2 separate regions of the Homo sapiens genome follow, and region 2 is linked to region 1. The links are contacts of gene promoters, found by promoter capture Hi-C in blood cells and fetal thymus (Javierre and others, 2016). All regions are on one chromosome and are shown on one strand. The core of a region is centred on a gene start or on the middle of the fragment in contact, and the rest is flanking DNA. Distances in the headings are between cores, read along the strand shown.

Region 1 (3,905 bases), core at 747-3,246:
TGATTTGCCTGCCTCAGCCTCCTAAAGTGCTGGGATTACAGGCATGAGCCACCATGCCTGTCCCATTATGTATATTGGGCGGAGGTTGCAGTGAGCCGAGATCGCACCATTGCACTTCAGCCTAGGCAACGAGTGAAAACGCCATCTCAAAAAAAAAAAAAGAAAAAAAATAAAGACCTTAACTGATCTTCCCTTACTTCTGACATCTTTTTCCATTCTATATGTTCTAGTCTGCTCGCCTCCTAGCAACTTGGTAGAATTATAAATTCTAAGAGCCCAGGCCTACTGAGGCAAAATTAGGGCTTATGACCCAGGTGTATGTTTTAATAAGCCCTCCAGTTGATTCTTACTCAAGTTTGAGAAACACATCTATGAAACTTGATAATCTCCTGCCTTTGAACCTTTCAACTTGCTGTTCTCTTCCAGATACCTGTGCATAGATAGATTGCTCACCACTTTAGGTCTCTGTTCAAATGTAGGGCTTTGCTTGATCACTCTAGAAAGCCCCTCGGCCTCCTCACACTTGCCTTCTTACTCTATCAAAGTGATGTAGATTCACTTGTAAATGTTTTCGGGCTCCCTATACTAGAATATGAGTTCAGTGACTGTGGAGATTTTTGTTTGGTCTGCATGCTGTATTTCCAGCACCTCTTTTCACCCTTTCCTCGCATTCATAAGACTAAAATTTATCATAATTTGGATGTCTTTTAGGATTGGAACTGTTGGAGTAAGATCGTATTGTCATCTTCTCACTAAAGATTTTGCAGGTGGAATTATGTGTGGATGCTACCTTTAATTTCTAGCATTAAAATTCTGAAGTTACTTTATTATTTTTCTGTTTGGGGGTGGGGTTTTTTTTGTTTTGGACAGAGTTTTGCTCTTGTCGCCCAGCCTGGAAGTGCAATGGTGCGATCTCAGCTCACTGCAACCTCTGCTTCCTGGGTTCAAGCGATTCTCCCGCAGTAGCCTCCTGAGTAGGCATTCACCACACCCTGCTGTTTTGTTACTTGTTTGTTTTTTGAGATGGAGTCTCGATTGATCGCCCAGGCTGGAGTGCAATAATAGCACCATCTCAGCTCACTGCAGCCTCCGCCCCCCCAGGGTTCCAGAGATTCTCCTGCCTCAGCCTCCCAGGTAGCTGGGATTACAGGCATGTGCCACCATACCCAGCTAATTTTTGTATTTTTAGTAGAGAAGGGGTTTCACCGTGTTGGCCAGACTGGTCTCAAACTCCTGACCTCAGGTGATCCGCCTGCCTCTGCCTCCCAAAGTGCTGGGATTGGGGGCATGAACCACCGCACCCAGCCTGAAGTTACTTTGGAAACAAATATATTTGTATATGACAGCTTGTAAAACTGTAGTGAGAAGAGCAGAATCATATATTTCTCAGTGAAAAAGAAACAAATCTTATAATGAAGCACAGAAGAGGCTTTAAGAATTACTGATACCATCTTGCCTTTTCTCCTTTGTTGGTAGGAAATTAGTAAATAAGCCAGGTTTGATGGCTAAAGAGTGATTTCTGGAGTTTTTTAAAAGTTAAAATCTTTTCTTATTAGGCATCCACCTACCCCAGGTTTGGGAAATGGTATTGAATGTTGGGCTTTCCCTTGTGTTTTAGTGATTATTTAAAGCTTGGGAGTGTTTTTTTCTTATTTTTCTGCAGGTGGTTATCACTAGGCTAAAACTGGACAAAGACCGCAAAAAGATCCTCGAACGGAAAGCCAAATCTCGCCAAGTAGGAAAGGAAAAGGGCAAATACAAGGAAGAAACCATTGAGAAGATGCAGGAATAAAGTAATCTTATATACAAGCTTTGATTAAAACTTGAAACAAAGAGCCTGTGTTTTGTGTGTGGTGATTTAGGACACTCCCTAGTTTTCAGTGGATCAGTCTCTTACCTCTGATTTGTTGGTCTAAAATTTTTCTGAAATCAGGACTGATGAGATTTTTTTTATAGTGGGCAGCAGCATTTGAGGATATATCAGAAGCTGGAGGGGTGTCATTGAGAAGAAGAAGGCCTACAAGAAAAGCTAGTTGGAAACACTTCCTCTTGAACCTGTCTTTTAACTTGCTTACTATGGATAGGTTGCTATATGGACAGGCTATATTTTTTACCTTACTGCGTAAAAGTTTGTATTGCCATTGGATAGGAAGTCTTGCTTTCAATAGGATAAGAAGCTTCTGTGACTTTATAGCTTCTAGATGACTTCTTCAAGCTGTTCCTCCAGATTGAGAGGTCTCGGGTTCAGGTTATCTGATAGACCCATGGGCCCCCTTTACCTTGTTTTCTGCACAAGTGCTGGATGAGTGCCATCAAACCAAAACCTAACACGTCTTTGAGTTAAAATATAAACTAAACTGCAGCTTCGTCAGGATGAAGTGAAAAGGTGTGAGGTGGCAGCAGTGTGTGTGCTCCTGCCGTTCCTCATTTTAAGCATCTAAACAGGACACCTGAAGCCCGTTTACTTTCCAGGCTGGAGACTTGGCAACAACGTGGGAATGGGGAACGGGCCCGAGTTAAGTCACTGGCTTAGCCAAGGTCACAGCTGGCATCTGGGTGAACAGCGCTGCACGGTGTCCGCGGTGCCTCTAGGGGGCGGGGCTTCCGGCTGGCGCTGACCGGCTTCCGGCGGAGCGGGCGGGAGGTGGGGCGGAGTTGCTGCTCGGGGGCCTCTGGGTGGAGGGGGATTCAGACGCCGCGTCTGGTGTGTCCCTTTCTCCTTCCTGACCTTCCTCAGTCTGCAGCTCTTTTCTCCACCGCGCGCCCGCCTCAGCCGTTCAGCCCTGAGCTGGCGGGTGGACGGGCATGGATCCAGGCGGTGGGAGCAGTCTGCGAAGTCAGGGTAGGAAGGCTACACAAAGGAGGCGACATCCCAGCCCGGTCCTCAGGAATAAGCGGGCGTGCCCGTGTGGTGTGGACGGTGAGGGGACACTGTATTAAGTGCCTTATCTGCATTATCATTGAATCTTCATAGCAATCGATTGTGATGGGTACTGGTCATCTCCCCGGGTTGTAGATGAGGAAACTGAGGCCTCAGTAACTTTGCTTTAGTCAGTAAATGATAAGAGTCAGCAAATGAATTCCCAAGCGTAGACTCGGCCGTACCGCTGCTCTACCTTGCTAATAACGACCTACCTGTAAGCGACATTTTTGACAAAATGTCCTTTAAACATCTTTTGTGCTCAGCTCTGTATTCGTGGGCCCTCCAAAGGGGGTACAGGCAGGTAGAAGCCTCCGTCCCTACCTTATAGGTTGTATATATCTGAACTGGTCGACTAAAGATGCAAAGCGAAGTGCTCCAGTGAGTGTGGTACAGGTTGTTGAGATGAAGGAGAGATGGCAATCAGCTAAAGTTACTGAATACGTCAGGAAGGAGGCTGGTTTCAGCTGGCTGTGATTGGGAGGATCAATGCGAGGACATTCCGAGTCGGAAACAGCCAAGGCGAAGACTCACAGGTGGGTGAAGGGAGTAAACATGGCTTTGGAAATATTTCCAGTTTTCTCTGACCAACTCGTTTATCACCTAGCCGTCACATAGATCACACCAAGAAGCTGATTGATTTACGGTCACATTTCTTTCATGTTGCTTTGGAAAAGATACTGAAGCCTCGGGCAACATAATGAGACCCCGTCTCTACAAAAAAAAAAAAAAAAGAAAGAAAAGAAAAAATTAGCTGGGTCTGGTGACGCATGCCTGTAGTCCCAGCTACTTGGGAGGCTGCGGTAGGAGGATGCCTTGACCCTGGGAGCCGTGATCATGCCACTGTACTCTAGCCTGGGTGACAAAGTGAGACCCTACCCTCTCAAAAAAAAAAAAAATGAAAGAAAAAAGATATTGAAAGCTTAGAAATGTGCAGGAGTGGGCAAGTAAGATGAATAGGTTAGTAGGTCCCGACGTCCTGGGC
Region 2 (3,785 bases), core at 684-3,183, 150 kb after region 1:
GCCCCACCCTCGATGGAAGGGGCTGCCCACCTTCCAGGCCTCTTTCTCCACCCTAGGACGTCCCCTAGAACCTGAGCCACTTTGTTTTGTTTGGCTCTTCATTATAGTTCTTTGGGTTTGGTGGCTCATAATGTTATATATATAGTATATAATATAAAAATATATATTTAAATATACAGTATTTAAAATTTGGCACAGCTTCCAGATGCGGTCCTCTAACTGGTCTTTCACTTGCAGTTACCTCCATCCCTCTCCACCAGCGGGATGTCAGGGTAAGGAGTAAGCAGGGATCCGGCTGGCCTGGCCTGGCCTGGCACCAGGTTTCGTGCAGCAGGGTGCAGAAGGGCTGAGGCCATGTGAACAGAGTCCAAGAAAGCATCATTCGGGAGTCGCTAGGGATCCTGGTGTGGAAGGGCAGGGCACTTTTCTGGAGCACTGAAGCTAGGCTGGTTAAGGAAGAAATAAATGCCAGAGATAAGGCAAGAAATAGGATCTGTGAGCTCTTGGCAGGACCTAAACCTCCTTGGAAGATAGGCAGAAAGCTCTCGACACCATTCCATGGCCCACGAACCAATGTAAGATGAGCAAATGGCTTGAAGGAATTGCTACCTCCAGGTCAAGCCAGGGATGCAGCACTGCCGAGACCACGTTTGTGCCAAGCACTGGGCTGGACCCTGTGCAGAACCAAATGAACAAGGCACGTTCCCCTTTCAGCACTAACGGCACTGTAAGAACAGGGAGAAGTGGAATCTAATCTGGCCTGAGGGTAGAGGGTGATCAGCTAAGTCTGAAACACCATGTAGAAACTTGCCATGTATGGCCGGGCGCGGTGGCTCACGCCTGTAATCCCAGCGCTTTGGGAGGCCAAGGTGGGCGGATCACGAGGTCAGGAGTTCCAGACCAGCAGCCTGGCCAACATAGTGAAACCTGGTAACATAGTGAAACCTCGTCTCTACTAAAAATGCAAAAAATTAGCCAGGCGTGGTGGCAGGCGCCTGCAGTCCTAGCTACTTGGGAGGCTGAGGCAAGAGAATCGCTTCAACCTTGGAGGGGGGAGGAGGTGTTGTCAGCCGAGATCGCGCCACTGCATCCCAGCCTGGGCAACAAGAGTGAAACTCCGTCTCAAAAAAATGAAATAAAATAAACGAATGATCAGCTGTTTGTTAGTTCTTGGTTATTAAAAGTGGGGTCTATGTACGCACTTTTCTGAGGAAAAAATAAAGTGTGGGGTATGTGGATGGGATTATGTGTGAACTCCCTGGATTGTATACATGTTTAGGAAGAGGGCCATAGCTTTTTTTTTTTTTTTTTTTTTTTGAGACGGAGGGAGTCTCATTCTGTCACCCAGGCTGGAGTGCAATGGCACAATATTGACTCACTGCAACCTCCGCTTCCCGGGTTCAAGCAATTCTCCTGCCTCAGTCTCCCGAGTAGCTGGGATTACAGGCGCCCGCCACCACGCCTGGCTAATTTTTGTATATTTAGTAGAGACGGGGTTTCACCATTTTGGTCAGGCTGGTCTTGAACTCCTGACCTTGTGATCCACCCACCTCAGCCTCCCAAAGTGCTGGGATTACAGGTGTGAGCCACTGTGCCCGGTGAAGAGGGACATAGCTTTCATAAGGGTCATAAAGGATTTAGGCCTCCCCTTCTGCAGCGTTTAAGTGCCTGAGGCCAGGGAAGAGGTGACTGGATTATTTTGCAGAGAAAGCTGGGGCCCAAGGGGAGGGAGACAGGAATTGGAAAAGGGTAGGAATGGGGGAGGAGATGCCAGATCAGCCCTGAGAACCTCTTTACCCATCTCAAAGACTTGGGACACTAATGGGAAAGGCTGGGCTAACTTCTGCTGCCCTTCCCCACTGTCTGTCCAGGGGAACCTGGGAAAGACAAATAGGAGCTGAATCCTTCACTGAAAGCCCCGTCATCGTATCTATGGGTTGGGCATTAGGAACGGCCTGGCCCCACAAATCACACAACTGGGGTGTAGAACAAAATGGTTCCACAGATGACACCAGGCTGGTCCAGGGCCGATGCAGGCCAGAACCCCGCTGGGAGGACTCCCCAGAACAGGCACTGAGCTGAGGAAAGGCAGGACACGTGGTCTGCTACCGACCCCACCAGATCTTGCTGGGACTCTGGGCAGCTCCGGAGTAAGAGCAGCATGGTGAGTGTTTAAGAGCGCAGAGGCTCACTGGGCAGTCCCGGGGACACTGCTAAGTCCCCAAACCGGGTCTACAGGCCTTCGACCACATTCATGCGGCCACGTGCCTCAGAGCCTTCGGGGGGTCTTAGGAGGCAGGCAGGAGGGTCTCCCTTCTAGGCCATTCTAGGAGGGGACTGGGGAGCAGAGGTTAGACTGTAGGGTAGGGGTAACCTGATCTTACAGTCCGGAAGCCATGAGACTAGTCGCCTGGCCTTGCGCCCCGCCCCACTGCAGGGTGGAAAGCCTGTCCCCCTCCAGTCACCCAGCTCAATAACGCCCTCTTCCGTGGGTCTTCTGGGCCCCAGAAATCGTTCCCTCTTTCCCTCGCTTGGGTACTGCCATGCGGTCTGGGGAACCCGTGGACTATCGATGGGTCTGGCCCAGGGTTTGCCCTGCCCGTTAGCCCAGGAGGATAGACAGACACGGGGCACTGGTGTTCCCCTAGTGATTTCTCCTGCCCGTCCCGAAAGCAAGCAATTCCACCGCTTCTCTTCAAAGCTCTGCAACGAAGAGCTAGGTCCAAGGACCGCAGGCGGAGGCAGGAAGTGTCAAGATCCCAGGTTACGGAATGGCACCAAGTCGGTAACCAAAGGAAGCAACAACCCGGGTGTTCAAGGCAGTCGTGCAAGGCGGCGCGGGGGCGAGGCCGAGGCCACTCCCTCCCACTTCCTTGACGCTATTTCCTGGGAGGAGCCGGAGCTCGCGGCCCGGAGCCAAGAGATTCCCAGCCCAGTGCTCCAAAATACTCGGCCTGGGGGAGGCTGGTCCGTGAGCGTGCGCCCGGACCGTTCCGCCATGCATAGTGGACCCAGCACTACAGCAAGCCTGGCACGACCTCTAAGGCGGTTCGCGGCAACGTCCGCACGTCGGCTCGTTGGTCTAGGGGTATGATTCTCGCTTCGGGTGCGAGAGGTCCCGGGTTCAAATCCCGGACGAGCCCTCCTTTACCTTTTACTGAGACAAGAGTGTCTTCAAGGAATAGGTTACCTGACCAGCGCTGCAGGAGGCTTGACTGTAAGTCATCAATGTACAGTAAGCTCTTTTGTGGCACCGCGGTAGCAGAAAGCATCTCAATCCCCAGACCCGCCTGGCATGTCAGGAAGAGACGAGGCACGCCCAGACTTGGGCAGGTCCCTCCCTTTCTGCTTCCTGACTTCCTTCCTGGTGTCTCAACTCGGCCACCACAGCCTGGTTTCGCTTTGATTGACACGCGTCAATCTATAGTTGTGGATGACAGTGTTCGGGAGAGCCCAGGAACTGTCAAAACTTGGTTCTCTGCAGTCCTGAAGGCACTCTGTCTCTTTCGGTCACTCCATCTGACGATTGGTGCCTGAAATACACCTACGGTTTCTGGTCAGCGTTTATCAGTGGTTGGAAGAACAGAACCCCTAGGAACCCTGCTGTCAGCACGCAGAGTGTAAAGTCTCAGATCAAGGATTCGGAGAAAGGTCTCTACAGGTCCCTCCTCGTTAGTATAGTGGTGAGTATCCCCGCCTGTCACGCGGGAGACCGGGGTTCGATTCCCCGACGGGGAGAGTACTAGCAGTTTTGAAACTTCTATCTTTTTGCTTTCATTAAATCC

Evidence for each region. Contacts are between HindIII fragments. The CHiCAGO score rates a contact against its expected background, and 5 or more counts as called.
Region 2: a contact is called between the fragment with the promoter of LINC00324 here and a fragment that was not itself captured in region 1, in 1 of 17 cell types (erythroblasts). The highest score is 5.9, in erythroblasts.

Annotation. Positions count from the first base shown.
Region 1 is chr17:8,375,451-8,379,355 of GRCh38, reverse strand. KRABD2 (KRAB domain containing 2) reads left to right here and starts at 2,652. Exons shown (of 2, transcript NM_001304947.3): 1 at 2,652-3,456. It overlaps RPL26 (ribosomal protein L26), which reads left to right. Exons shown (of 4, transcript NM_000987.5): 4 at 1,664-1,840. The coding sequence ends at 1,792. RefSeq lists a silencer at 2,518-2,717 and an enhancer at 2,462-3,013. The HindIII fragment of the contact is 367 bases long and covers 1,813-2,179 here.
Region 2 is chr17:8,222,191-8,225,975 of GRCh38, reverse strand. It overlaps LINC00324 (long intergenic non-protein coding RNA 324), which reads left to right and starts at 1,933. Exons shown (of 3, transcript NR_026951.1): 1 at 1,933-2,164; 2 at 2,702-3,683. CTC1 (CST telomere replication complex component 1) reads left to right here. Exons shown (of 23, transcript NM_025099.6): 23 at 1-1,161. TRP-CGG1-3 (tRNA-Pro (anticodon CGG) 1-3) reads left to right here and starts at 3,072; the gene lies at 3,072-3,143. TRD-GTC2-11 (tRNA-Asp (anticodon GTC) 2-11) reads left to right here and starts at 3,667; the gene lies at 3,667-3,738. RefSeq lists enhancers at 2,150-2,389, 2,640-2,769, 2,316-3,057, 3,380-3,579 and silencers at 3,120-3,169, 3,630-3,699. The HindIII fragment of the contact is 13,535 bases long and covers 1-3,785 here.